2 separate regions of the Homo sapiens genome follow, and region 2 is linked to region 1. Evidence: promoter capture Hi-C in human tissues and cell types (Jung and others, 2019). All regions are on one chromosome and are shown on one strand. The core of a region is centred on a gene start or on the middle of the fragment in contact, and the rest is flanking DNA. Distances in the headings are between cores, read along the strand shown. Region 1 holds the start of UPK1B (uroplakin 1B). Region 2 has its middle 13 kb from the start of TEX55.

Evidence for each region. The method cuts DNA at HindIII sites, captures the fragments that hold promoters and counts their contacts. A contact is called where the count stands out against the background at its distance.
Region 2: a fragment that was not itself captured here is called in contact with the fragment with the promoter of UPK1B in region 1 in 1 of the 25 tissues and cell types used here (pancreas).

What each region holds. Positions count from the first base shown.
Region 1 is chr3:119,171,671-119,178,226 of GRCh38, forward strand. UPK1B (uroplakin 1B) reads left to right here and starts at 1,928. Exons shown (of 8, transcript NM_006952.4): 1 at 1,928-1,968. The HindIII fragment of the contact is 12,321 bases long and covers 1-6,556 here.
Region 2 is chr3:119,129,898-119,136,693 of GRCh38, forward strand. It overlaps a transcript of IGSF11 not described here. Among named protein-coding and RNA genes, the nearest start is that of TEX55, 13 kb to the right of the region's middle. The HindIII fragment of the contact is 5,527 bases long and covers 1-4,946 here.

The DNA.
Region 1 (6,556 bases), core at 678-3,177:
GCCTGTCATACATTAACGACTTGACGTTCCTCAACTATTCAGTTGCAGTTATTATCTGAAAACTAATCTTCCTTTTCCTAGCTAGTCTCTTGTCTCTTGTTATTGGGTTTGTGTTCACATTATCTATTTTGAAGATTTTCAAATCTTTTTGTTTTCTCCCCATATAATCATGGTAATGGAACATAAAATGCCTAAGACATGAATGAAAATTCACATGTCCTTGTTTGCTTCCTTGCTACTTTATCACAAATATTTCCAGGACAGCACATGTTTTTAATAACTTGTACGTTCTTATAATTATAATATAGATCCTTTGTAAACATATGAACTGCAAAAATAGAAGACTGTAAAAGTCACCCATATTTTACCATTCAGATATATTCTGGTTAATGTTTGCTGTATACTATTTCTAACTTTTTAAGTCATAGGTAAACTTTCTTAAAAATTAAAATGTGTCAGATTACACAAACTATTTTGTAAACCGCTTTTTCATTTTCAGCCTCTAGAAGAGTGCCTGGCACATCCTAAGTTTTCAATAAATATTTGTCAAATAAATGACTGAACTTATTTCCATACCATTAAATGTTTATCTGTGGTGTCATTTTTAACCATTGCACAGAATTCTATTGTGTGAAATATGATAATTTATCTAACAAGGCCCTGAAGAGCTGCAGAGGAATAAGGCCTTGTGATGGACACAGAGGTGCTCCATGCAGTCCCCCTTGAAGTGGGAGGTTGCCCTGCTGCTGGGAGTACTTGCAACCTCCAGCCTCCAGTTATCAGCCCCTTTCAGGACTTGCCTCAGCTACAGAAAGCTGCCTTCCCAGGGTAATCCACATTGAAGGGCAGATCATAGAGGAGCCCAGTGTCAGAGCTACTCTGACAGGCCATCTTCCTCCAGAGTTTCCTGAGGAGGGCTGCTTAAGACTGTCCCATCTATATTGCAGCTCAACTTCTTCCTCTGCCCAGTCCTGTTTCTCCCCTCTCCCTGCCATGGGTGTTAATCTCAGGGCACTGTCTAATAAATATATTGCACACTAAATTTTGTCTCAAAGTCTGCTCCTGAACAACCTAACCTGCAACAGAGATGATGCTGACCTTTGAGGAACTCCCAAGTCTATTGGTAAAAGCACTCAGTAAATTCTAACATTACTGCAGTTACCGATTCCTAACTCAGGTTAAACAAGCGATGGCGCATGTATACCATGATAGGTTATGCAGCCATTAAAATAATGTTCTGGGTGCCATGTATAACACATGATGGCTCCAGAAGTCAGGGAAGAAGGAAAAAAGAAGGGAAGGGAAGAGAAGAGAAAGGGAGGGAAGAAGAGGGGAGGGAAGAATTGGACATCAGATAATCACTTGAGCCCTCTCTCTCCGTGAATTTTTCCCAATCTGTTTCTTTCCACATCTCTTGCTCCTTATCAGTCTTTGGGCCACCTACAGTATGAGCATTACTTGGGCAATTACTGTCTCTCTGAATTTGGCATATGCAAATTATAGAAACTAAAACTGGACATGGCCCTACACAGGTAAGCACATATCAGCATCGCTGTGAGCGGTCAGGACTAACAAGCCTTCAACACACAAAAGCAGGAGTAAGGATCAAATTACACAAATCAAATCAAATCAAATCAAAATAAAATCCCTGAGTTTGTATTCCAGTAAAGCCCAAACCTAGGAGGGATCCAGGAAAGCGATGAGTGTGGCTGTCAAGGTGCTTCCATCTGTCAGAGTCACACATTCCAAAGCAGCAGAAATCAACTGACAGCCTCCGGTTACTCCCCCGCCTCAGCGAGGCAGGGCAGGCAGCGGAAAGCTCAGCCCATGTGAGGTGCCTCCTGCCAATCACAGACTACCCTTCCCTGGTCCTGGAGGTTCAAAGAATTGCAGGAGGGTAGAAAAGCACCTGGGTCGGGTGCAGACTGCGGAGCGGGCCCTACCGTGTGCGCAGAAAGAGGAGGCGCTGTGAGTAGACCGCTTTCCCTCTGCAGGGAATCTCCCGGGCTCAAGGGCTGGGTTGCTCTCCTGGGAGGGAAGCTAGCAGACTGGGAGGGAAAGGGGAAGAAGTTAGATTCTTGATTCATAAAGTCTGTCATTTTTTTCTTTGTAATTTAGGGTATTGTGACTGTCCTGTTCTCTTTTACTTTGAACCGTTGGAATTGCTTTCTTAATACCCTTGATATAAGTCTTGTTCTCATTAAACTTCTGGAGATATTACGCAGCCATCCTGCTTTCAACCTCAGATATCCCCACAGAAAGAACAAGAAAATCCAAGCACCCCGAGAAACCCTATATCTCCTGATTAAATCGCACATAGACAGTCACCTTTGTAGACCCCCAATTTCCTTGTGGAGTCAGAAAAGCAATAGAAAGTTTAACGAAATAGCTCGTGTTATTTCTTAATAATCTGTTCAGGCTAGCAGAGAGAAAGTTTCTTGGTCTTCTTGTCAGAAATCATTTGGTCCTGCCAACCTGTAATGAAATGTGTGAAGCAATTTACTCCCAGTTATTCTCTGCAAACACTTCTGCTTAATAAATGTGTCAGTTGAAGTAAGTCAACAAAGTAGCTTTATCTACGCAATGTTATTTTTACATAATTTGTTTTTACTCCTTACCAATTCTTTGCTCCACCATGATCTGCAGGACATAAAGATATTTTTCATTCTGATCACATTTTCACACAAAATACAAATTTAAGTTTCAAATAATGCTAGTATTATTTTATGTTTGCATTTGTTTATAAACCTAAAACTCCACTTCTAACTAGTTTTAAAGATTTTTAAGCCATTTAAGAATTCGTAGCCAGTCACAGTGGCACATGCCTGCAGTTCCAGCTATTCGGGAAGCTGAGGCCACGTGATCAGGAGTTCTAGTCCAGGCTGGGCAACATAGTGAGATCCTGTCTCTAAAAAAAATAAAAATAAATTTTTAAAGAAGTTTTGTTAACTTGAATGTCTTCTTTTAATGAAAGACAACGTTTCTTGAACATTTCTTGCCTGAGTTGCTAAGCACAACAGGAAAGAACTCATTAGGTTTTATAGATATACATACTTTGAGTATAAACAAAATTTAGGTTACATAGTTTTCAGACCCTATGAAGAAGTGGATTTTCTTTTTATTAACCTTCTCAGTGAGGAGAAAAATTTCTTACTTTGCTTTCTGCTCCAACAGATTGTTTTGCTTTCTGCTATAAAATAGTCTTTAAAATCAACTCACCTATTTTTTTTTTTTTTAACTGCTGGGAAGAATCATAGACTTTTACATCCAAAGGGGACCTTAGACATCATTTAATCAAGGGGAAAAAAAAGAAACTCAGAACTTTTTTTTTCTTTTATTTTCTTTTTTTTTTTTTTTTTTTTTTTTTTTTTTTTTTTGAGACGGAGTCACTCTGAGGCCCAGGCTGGAGTGCAGTGGCGTGATCTCTGCTCACTGCAAGCTCTGCCTCCCGGGTAGATGCCATTCTCCTGCCTCAGCCTCCCGAGTAGCTGGGACTACAGGTGTCTGCCACCACGCCCGGCCAATTTTTTGTATTTTTAGTAGAGACGGGGTTTCACCGTGTTAGCCAAGATGGTCTCAATCTCCTGACCTCGTGATCCATCCACCTCAGCCTCCCAAAGTGCTGAGATTACAGGCTTGAGCCACCGCACCCGGCCAAAACTCAGAACTTCTTTTTGACTTCTCCTGCTTACAATCTTAACCAGAGTAAACACCAGCCAGCCTTTAAATATGCTCTGGAATTTGTGCCTGATAGCCATGCAGGCTGCCCACAAACTTGATGGGCCACCATTCACCAACTGGGACAGAGACCACATTGGTGAGGGGGCACCATCATCACACACCGCCCTACCCGCCTGCCCACCCCCTCCCCCCCGCCCCAAGGACTCTCCATAGTACTCCTGCCCTGGAGCTGGGCATCTCTCTGGCAATGCCCACACCTGAGGCCCTCGTGCAACTGAGTGCTCCTGAGCCATTGCTTACAGCTAGTCCCTGATTTCCAATGGGTGGATGACTCCCATCATACTGGGAGCACCAGGAATCAAGAGCAGTGCTGTCCAGTAAAACTTTCTGTGATGAGGGAAATGTTCTAGATAATAGACACTAACCACATGTATCTAGGGAGTGCTTGAGATGTGGTTGGAGCAACTGAGGAACTGATTTTTACTTTTATTTAATTGAATTCTTTTGACTTTAAATAACTGCATGCAACTACTAACTACTGTATTAGTCAACACAGGTTTAGAGCTTTAAAGCAAGAAAAACTTATGGGCACTGTGAGCCATGGGTGACAGCCCTGGGAGAAACCTCCTCTTTTTGTTATTTCCAGGGACTTATCCTACCTTAAGTTGAAGCAGACCAGCAATTGTTGTGACCTACAATCTCCACACCCATCTTTACTCTGAGCCAAGGAAGTGTCTGTTCTTGTGCTGAGTTTCAGGGTGAGGGCTAAGGCAATCGCATATTGTGTTTCTTTGTTTCTTCCTCTCCTATTTTTCCTTTTCTTTTTTTCTCCTTTGTTAATTCAAATTTCTCTAGCATGAACTAAAGTTTGAGGTGTGGTTTGTGTGTTCTCTGGTACAACAAACTTGGGTGAGGAAAAGAGGTAATGAACTTGAAAAAATGATCTCATGCTTACTGGGCGAGTCTCACTTCTTTTTCTTCTGCTTTGCAAATTGGTTTGTTTAGTGAGCAATTGTTTTTAGACCTTTCAATGTGTCTGGAAACATCAACACTACGGGTATGATTAATTTTTATAGGAAAACAAACTGAGTGAAAGCACAATAAAGAAAAAACAAGAAATATAATTCTAGCTTTAAAAAAATCTGCACTCTTTAAAGCAAAGGAACTCCCAGGGTATTGAGCAATTTGAGTAAATCATCATCATACCAGGCCACAGGGCAGTTTTCCCACAGGGCGGGGTGCACAGGGGCTATTCCTTTACATGGAAAATATTTCGAGGTGAGTTGCGTACTTTCAGTCTGGGGCGTTCCATCTCTAACGCGGGCAGTTGCTGCTCTGCCCTCTGCCTTCCACCGCTTTCCACTTGTTAAATGTAACTCATCCCATTGGTTTCCTTCCCACCCCTGCCAGATAAGTAATCCAATATAGTCAGGGAGGCATTGTTTTAGAATAACGTGGGGAGGGTTCAGAAGACCACATATCTAAAACAGTTTCTACATACTGTGGGCTAAAAGAGAAGGCAGGAAAGAGGACACATCATATCATTAGAAGTCAGTATAGCCAGAGAGACAGACCCAAACCCCCAAATCATAAGTTACGAGGTTTGTCTTTTTAGGTTCTACCCTCTCCTTGGGTCTCTTTCCTTCTCATGGTGTCTTCCCTCGCCCTTTGAAAATTAAATAAGAGAAGGGAGCTGATAAATGAGGCATTGACATGGATGGCTCATGAAACTCAATGTGCCTCTTTTATATGAGCTTGCATTTTAATCAGGAATGAAGGAGTGAGTCTCAAATTGTGGCATTCAGAAGTTAGGGTAAACGGTGAGGAAGCCTTTGAATGAAGGAAAAGGATAGAAGGCTTTCTCCCTGCCAGCTTTGTTTATGTGGCTCCCTTTCTGGCTTATCTTGTAGTGAGTCTCATGGGTAGGCTCACAGGTGGGAGGTCAAGAGTTTCTCTTAATTTAAAAAGACGTAAAGGGAAGTGGATCTCCCTACCTTAAAAAGAATAATCATTAGTGACAAACCCCATAGAAGGCTGGGTTAAGAGTTAGGAAACCTGGACTTGAATCTTAACTCTTTTAATAACACATCATGATCGTGAACAAGTCACTTTCTCTCTGTGAGCCTTAAATTTCTCACCTGTACAAAGCCTCCAAGTTTGCAGCCAGAACTGATGTATCATGCCGTGAACAGGCACCTGGCCAATAACTGTCCTAGGATGAATGACACTTTAATGTCTCTCAAATTACATATCTTCTAAGACAAACAAAAACTACCAAAAGTGTAGTCATTGACTTCTAAGTGTGACACCCGTCAATTAATTTAAAAGTTTATAATTTTGCTTTTTAATGCAATTATTTGTTAAATTGGCTTTTTTGATGCACAGCAATCCAATTTTTGTGGCTTCAGAATATCTTATTAAACAAACTTGGGTGAAGAAAAGACGTAACAACGTACCAGACTATATTGCTGTGGCAGAGGCTAGTATGGAAGAAAAGCCATAAACACATATCCACAATGGTTTCAGCTTCCCTGGAGAGCTATTTGCTATAGGCAGAGAGAGGGATATAGGGAAGGAAGGATAATTCTGGGTAAGAGAAGTTGAGGAGAGAAGAGGTTTTTCAGCTGGGCTTCGGAAGGTGGTAAAGAGTTCGATAGGCAGAAATGGGAGAAGGGATTCCAAAGACAGGGACACCCTAAGCACAGCATGGTGGCATGACCAGGACACCAAAGGGTTGGGGGGGTGGGGCACGCAGTGAAAAATGGCAGGCAGGCCATTTAGAACCTGGATGGGTGCTGCCTTGAATACACACTGAGGAGTTTGTACTTTATCTCTTAGGTGGTCCAACCACTCCTCCACTGGCTGAATGGAAAAT
Region 2 (6,796 bases), core at 933-3,432, 42 kb before region 1:
TTGCTTGAGTCCAGGAGGTCGACGCTGCAGTAAGCCATGATCACACCACTGCACTCCAGTATGGGCAACAGACCAAGACTCTGTCTTAAAAAAAATTTTTTTTAATTAAAAAAATTAAAGCAAGAAATTAAATCATACCACCAGAGAAAATCACCTTCACTAAAAAGAAGACAGAAAGGTCTGGTTTCTGTTCCAAGATGGCCGAATAGGAACAGCTCCAGTCTGCAGCTCCCAGAATGATTGATGCAGAAGATAGGTGATTTCTGCATTTCCAACTGAGATACCTGGTTCGTCTCACTGGGACTGGTTGGAGAATGGGTGCAGCCCACAGAGGGTGAGCCAAAGCAGGGCAGGGCATTGCCTCACCCAGAAAGTGCAAAGGGTTGGGAGATTTCCCTTTCCTAGCCAAGGGAATCCATGATAGACTGTACCTGGAAAATCGGTACACTCTTGCCCAAATACTGCACTTTTCCCATGGTCTTAGCAACGAGCAGACCAGGAGATTCTCTCCTGTGCCTGGCTCGGCAGGTCTCATGCCCACAGAGCCTTGCTCACTGCTAGCGCAGCAGTCTGAGATGGAATTGCAAGGCTGCAGCCTGGCGGGGGGAGGGGCATCCACATTACTGAGGCTTGAGTAGGTAAACAAAGTGGTCAGGAAGCTCGAACTGGGCAGAACCCACCACAGCTCAGCAAGACCTACTGCCTCTGTAGACACCACCTCTGTGGGCAGGGCATAACTGAACAAAAGGCAGCAGACAACTTCTGCAGACTTAAACGTCCCTGTCTGACAGCTCTGAAGAGAGCAGTGATTCTCCAGACAGACTGCCTCCTGAAGTGGGTCCCTGACCCACATGTAGCCTAACTCAGAGACACCTCCCAGTAGGGGCCAAAAGACACCTCATACAGGCAGGTGCCCCTCTGGGACGAAGCTTCCAGAGGAAGGATCAGGAAGCAATATTTGCTGTTCTGCAATATTTGCTGTTCTGCAGCCTACACTGGTAATATCCAGGCGAACGGCCTGGAGTGGACCCCCAGCAAACTCCAACAGACCTGCAGCTGAGGGATCTGACTGTTAAAAGGAAAACAAAGAGAAAGGAATAGAATCAACATCAACAACAAAAAAATCCTCACCAAAACCTCATCAGTAGGTCACCAACATCAAAGACCAAAGGTAGATAAAACCACAAAGATGGAGAGAAATCAGAGCAGAAAACCTGAAAATTCTGAACACAAGAGCGCCTCTTCCCCTCCAAAGGATCGCAGCTCCTTGCCAGCAACAGAACAAAGCTGGACAGAGAATGACTTTGACAAGTTGACAGAAGTAGGGTTCAGAAGATCAGTAAATAACAAATTTATCTGAGCTAAAGGAGGATGTTCTAACCCATCCCAAGGAAGCTAAAAACCTTGAAAAAAAGGTTAGATGAATGGGTACTAGAATAAACAGTGGAGAGAAGACCTTAAATGACCTGATAGAGCTGAAAACCATGGCACAAGAACTTCATGATGCGTACACAAGCTTCACAGCAGATTCATTCAAGTGGAAGAAAGGATATCAGTGATTGAAGATCAAATTAATGAAATAGCGAGAAGACAAGATTAGAGAAAACAGAGTAAAAAGAAGGGAACAAAGCCTCCAAGAAATATGGGACTATGTGAAAAGACCAAATCTACGTTTGACTGGTGGACCTGAAAGTGATGGGGAGAATGGAACCAAGTCAGAAAACACTCTTCAGGATATTATCTAGGAGAACTTCCCCAACCTAGCAAGGCAGGCCAACATTCAAATTCAGGAAATACAGAGAACACCACAAAGATACTCCTCAAGAAGACTAACCCCAAGACACATAATTGTCAGATTCACCAAGGTTGAAATGAAGGGAAAAAGGTTAAGGGCAGCCAGAGAGGAAGATCAGGTTACCTACAAAGGGAAGCCCATCAGACTAACAGCAGATCTCTTGGCCAAAACCCTACAAGCCAGAAGAGAGTGAGGGCCAATATTCAACACTCTTGAAGAAAAGAATTTTCAACCCAGAATTTCATATCCAGCCAAACTAAGCTTCATAAGTGAAGGAGAAATAAAATCCTTTACAGACAAGCAAATGCTGAGAGATTTTGTCACCACCAGGCCTACCTTACAAGAGCTCCTGAAGGAAGAACTAAATATGGAAAGGAATGACCAGTACCAGCCACTGCAAAAACATGCCAAACTGTAAAGACCATCGATGCTATAAAGAAACTGTATCAATTAATGGAAAAAATAACCAGCTGACATCATAATGACAGGATCAAATTCACATATAACAATATTAACCTTAAATGTAAATGGGCTAAATGCTCCAATTAAAAGACACAGACTGGCAAATTGGATAAAGAGTCAAGACCCATCAGTGTGCTATATTCAGGAGACCCATCTCACATGCAGAGACACATATAGGCTCAAAATAAAGGGATGGAGGAAGGTCTACCAAGCAAACAGAAAGCAAAAAAAAAAAAAAAAAAAAAAAAAAAAAGCAGGGGTTGCGATCCTAGTCTCTGATAACACAGACTTTAAACCAACAAAGATGAAAAGGGACAAAGAAGGCCATTGCGTAATATTAAAGGGATCAATTCAACAGTAAGAGCTAACTATCCTAAATAGATATGCACCCAATATGGGAGCACGCAGATTCATAAAGCAAGTCCTTAGAGACCTATAAAAGACTTAGACTCCCGCATAATAATAATGGGAGACTTTAACATCCCACTGTCAATAGTAGACAGATCAATGAGACAGGTTAACAAGGATATCCAGGACTTGAACTCAGCTCTACACCAAGCAGACCTAATAGACATCTACAGAACTCTCCACCCCAAATCAATAGAATATACATTCTTCTCAGCACATCACACTTACTCTAAAATTGACCACATACTTGGAAGTAAAGCACTCCTCAGCAAATGTAAAAAAATGGAAATCACAACAAACTATCTCTCAGACCACAGCACAATCAAATTAAAACTTAATACTAAGAAACTCACTCAAAACCACACAACTACATGGAAACTGAACAACCTTCTCCTGAATGGCTACTGGGTAAATAACAAAATAAAGGCAGAAATAAAGATGTTCTTTGAAACCAATGAGAACAACGACATAACATACCAGAATCTCTGGGACACATTTAAAGCAGTGTGTAGAAGGAAATTTATAGCACTAAATGCCCACAACTGAAAGCAGTAAAGATCTAAAATCAACACCATAACATCACAATTAAAAGAACTAGAGAAGCAAGAGCAAACAAATTCAAAAGCTAGCAAAAGGTAAAAAATTACTAAGATCAGAGCAGAACTGAAAGAGATAGAGACACAAAAAAACCCTTCAAAAAATCAATGAATCCAGGAGCTGGTTTTTTGAAAAGATCAACAAAATTGATAGAACGCTAGCAAGACTAGTAAAGAAGAAAAGAGAGAAGAATCAAATAGGGGTGCAATAAAAAATGATAAAGGGGATATTACCACCAATCCCACAGAAATACAAACTACCTTCAGAGAATACTATAAACACCTCTATGCAAATAAACTAGAAAATCTAGAAGAAATGGATAAATTCCTGGACACATGCACCCTCTCAAGAATAAACCAGGAAGAAGGTGAATCTCTGAATAGACCAATAACAGGTTCTGAAATTGAGGCAATAATTAATAGCCTACCAACCAAAAAAAGTCCAGGACCAGACGGATTCACAGCCAAATTCTAAAAGAGGTACAAAGAGGAGCTGGTACCATTCCTTCTGAAACTATTCCAATCAATAGAAAAAGAGGGGATCCTCCCTAACTCATTTTATGAGGCCAGCATCATCCTGCTACAAAAGCCTGGAAGAGACTCAACAACAAAAAGAGAATTTTAGACCAATATCCCTAATTAACATCGATGCGAAAATCTTCAATAAAATACTGGCAAACCGAATCCAGCAGCACATCAAAAAGTCTATCCACCATGATCAAGTTGGCTTCACCCCTGGGATGCAAGGCTGATTCAACATATGCCAATCAATAAACGTAATCCATCACATAAACAGAACCAAAACCACATGATTATCTCAACAGATGCAGAAAAGGCCTTTGACAAAACTCAACAGCCCTTCATGCTAAAAACTCTCAATAAACTAGGTATTGATGGAACACATCTCAAAATAATAAGAGCTATTTATGACAAACCCATAGCGAATATCATACTGAATGGGCAAAAACTGGAAGCATTCCCTTTGAAAACCACCACAAGACAAGGATGCCCTCTCTCACCACTCCTTTTCAACATGGTGTTGGAAGTTCTGGCCAAGGCAATCAGGCAGGAGAAAGAAATAAAGGGTATTCAATTAGGAAAAGAGGAAGTCAAAGGGTCCCTGTTTGCAGATGACATGATTGTCTATTTAGAAAACCCCATCGTCTCAGCCCAAAATCTCCTTAAGCTCATAAGCAACTTCAGCAAAGCTCAGTATACAAAATCAATGTGCAAAAATCACAAGCATTCTTATACACCAATAACAGACAAACAGAGAGCCAAATCATGAGTGAACTCCCACTCACAATTGCTACAAAGAGAATAAAATACCTAGGAATCCAACTTACAAGGGATGTGAAGGACCTCTTCAAGGAGAACTACAAACCACTGCTCAATGAAATAAAAGAGGACACAAACAAATGAAAGAACATTCCATGCTCACAGATAGGAAGAATCAACATCATGAAAATGGCCATACTGCCCAAGGTAATTTATAGATTTAATGCCATCCCCATCAAGCAAAATGACTTTCTTCACAGAATTGGAAAAAACTAAAGTTCATATGGAACCAAAAAAGAGTCCACATAGCCAAGACAATCCAAAGCAAAAAGAACAAAGCTGGAGGCATCACGCTACCTGACTTCAAACTATACTACAAGGCTACAGTAACCACAACAGCATACACAGATACACAGACCAAAACAGATACACATACCAATAGAACCGAACAGAGGCCTCAGAAATAACACCACACATCTACAACCATCTGATCTTTGACAAACCTAACAAAAACAAGAAATGGGGAAATGATTCCCTATTTAAAAGTGGTGCTGGGAAAACTAGCTAGCCATATGTAGAAAGCTGAAACTGGATCCCTTCCTTACACCTTACAGAAAAATTAATTCAAGACGGATTAAAGACTTAAATGTAAGATCTAAAACCATAAAAACCCTAGAAGAAAACCTAGGCAATACCGTTCAGGACATAGGCATGGGCAAGGACTTCATGGCTAAAACACCAAAAGCAATGGCAACAAAAGCCAAAATTGACAAATGGGATCTAATTAAACTAAAGAGCTTCTGCACAGCAAAAGAAACTACCATCAGTGTGAACAGGCAACCTACAGAATGGGAAAAAATTTTTGCAATCTACCCATCTGACAAAGGGCTAATATCCAGAATCTACAAAAAACTCAAACAAATTTACAAGAAAGAAACAAACAACCCCATCAAAAAGTGGGCAAAGGATATGAACAGACACTTCGCAAAAGAAGACATTTATGCAGCCAACAGACACATGAAAAAATGCTCATCATCACTGGTCATCAGAGAAATGCAAATCAAAATCACAATGAGATATCATCTCACGCAGGTTAGAATGGTGATCATTAAAAAGTCAGGAAACAACAGATGCTGGAGAGGATGTGGAGAAATAGGAACGTTTTTATACTGTTGGTGGGAGTGTAAATTAGTTCAATCATTGTGGAAGACAGTGTGGCAATTCCTCAGGGATCTAGAACTAGAAATACCATTTGACCCAGCCATCCCATTACTGGGTATATACCCAAAGGATTATAAATCATGCTACTATGAAGACACATGCACACGTATGTTTACTGCAGCACTATTCACAATAGCAAAGACTTGGAACCAACCCAAATGTCCACCGATAATAGACTAGATTAAGAAAATGTGGCACATATACACCATGGAATACTATGCAGCCATAAAGAAGAATGAGTTCATGTCCTTTGCAGGGAAATGGATGAAGATGGAAACCATCATTCTAAGCAAACTATCACAAGGACAGAAAACCAAACACCACATGTTCTCACTCATAGGTGGGAACTGAACAATGAGAACACTTGGACACGGGGAAGGGAACATCACACACCAGCACCTGTCATGGGCTTGGGGGCTGGGGTAGGGATAGCATTAGGAGAAATATCTAATGTAAATGACGAGTTGATGGGTGCAGCGAACCAACATGGCACATGTATACCTATGTAACAAACCTGCACATTGTGCACATGTACCCTAGTACTTAAAGTATAATAATTAAAAAGAAAAAAAGAAGACAGAAAGGAAAGAAAGAAGGAAGAGAAGACTACAAAACAACCAGAAAATAAATAACAAAACAGCAGGAATCAGTTCTTGTTTATCAATAATAATGTTGAATGTAAAGGGACTTAACTCCTCAATAAAAAAGACATACAGTGGCTGAATGAATAAAAAGAAAAACATGACCCAATGATCTGTTGCCAATAAGAAACACACTTCACCTATGAAGGCACACATAGACTGAAAATTAAGGGATGGAAAAGGATATTCCATGTCTATGGAAATCAAACAAAGAGCAGGAGTAGCTATATTTATATCAGACAAAATAGATTTCAAGACAAAAACTATAAAAAGAGACAAAGAAGGTCACTATATAAAGATAAAGGGATCAATTCAGCAAAAGTATATAACAATCATAAATACATATGCACCTAACATGGGAGCACTCATATGTTATTAGAGGTAAAGAAGGAAAT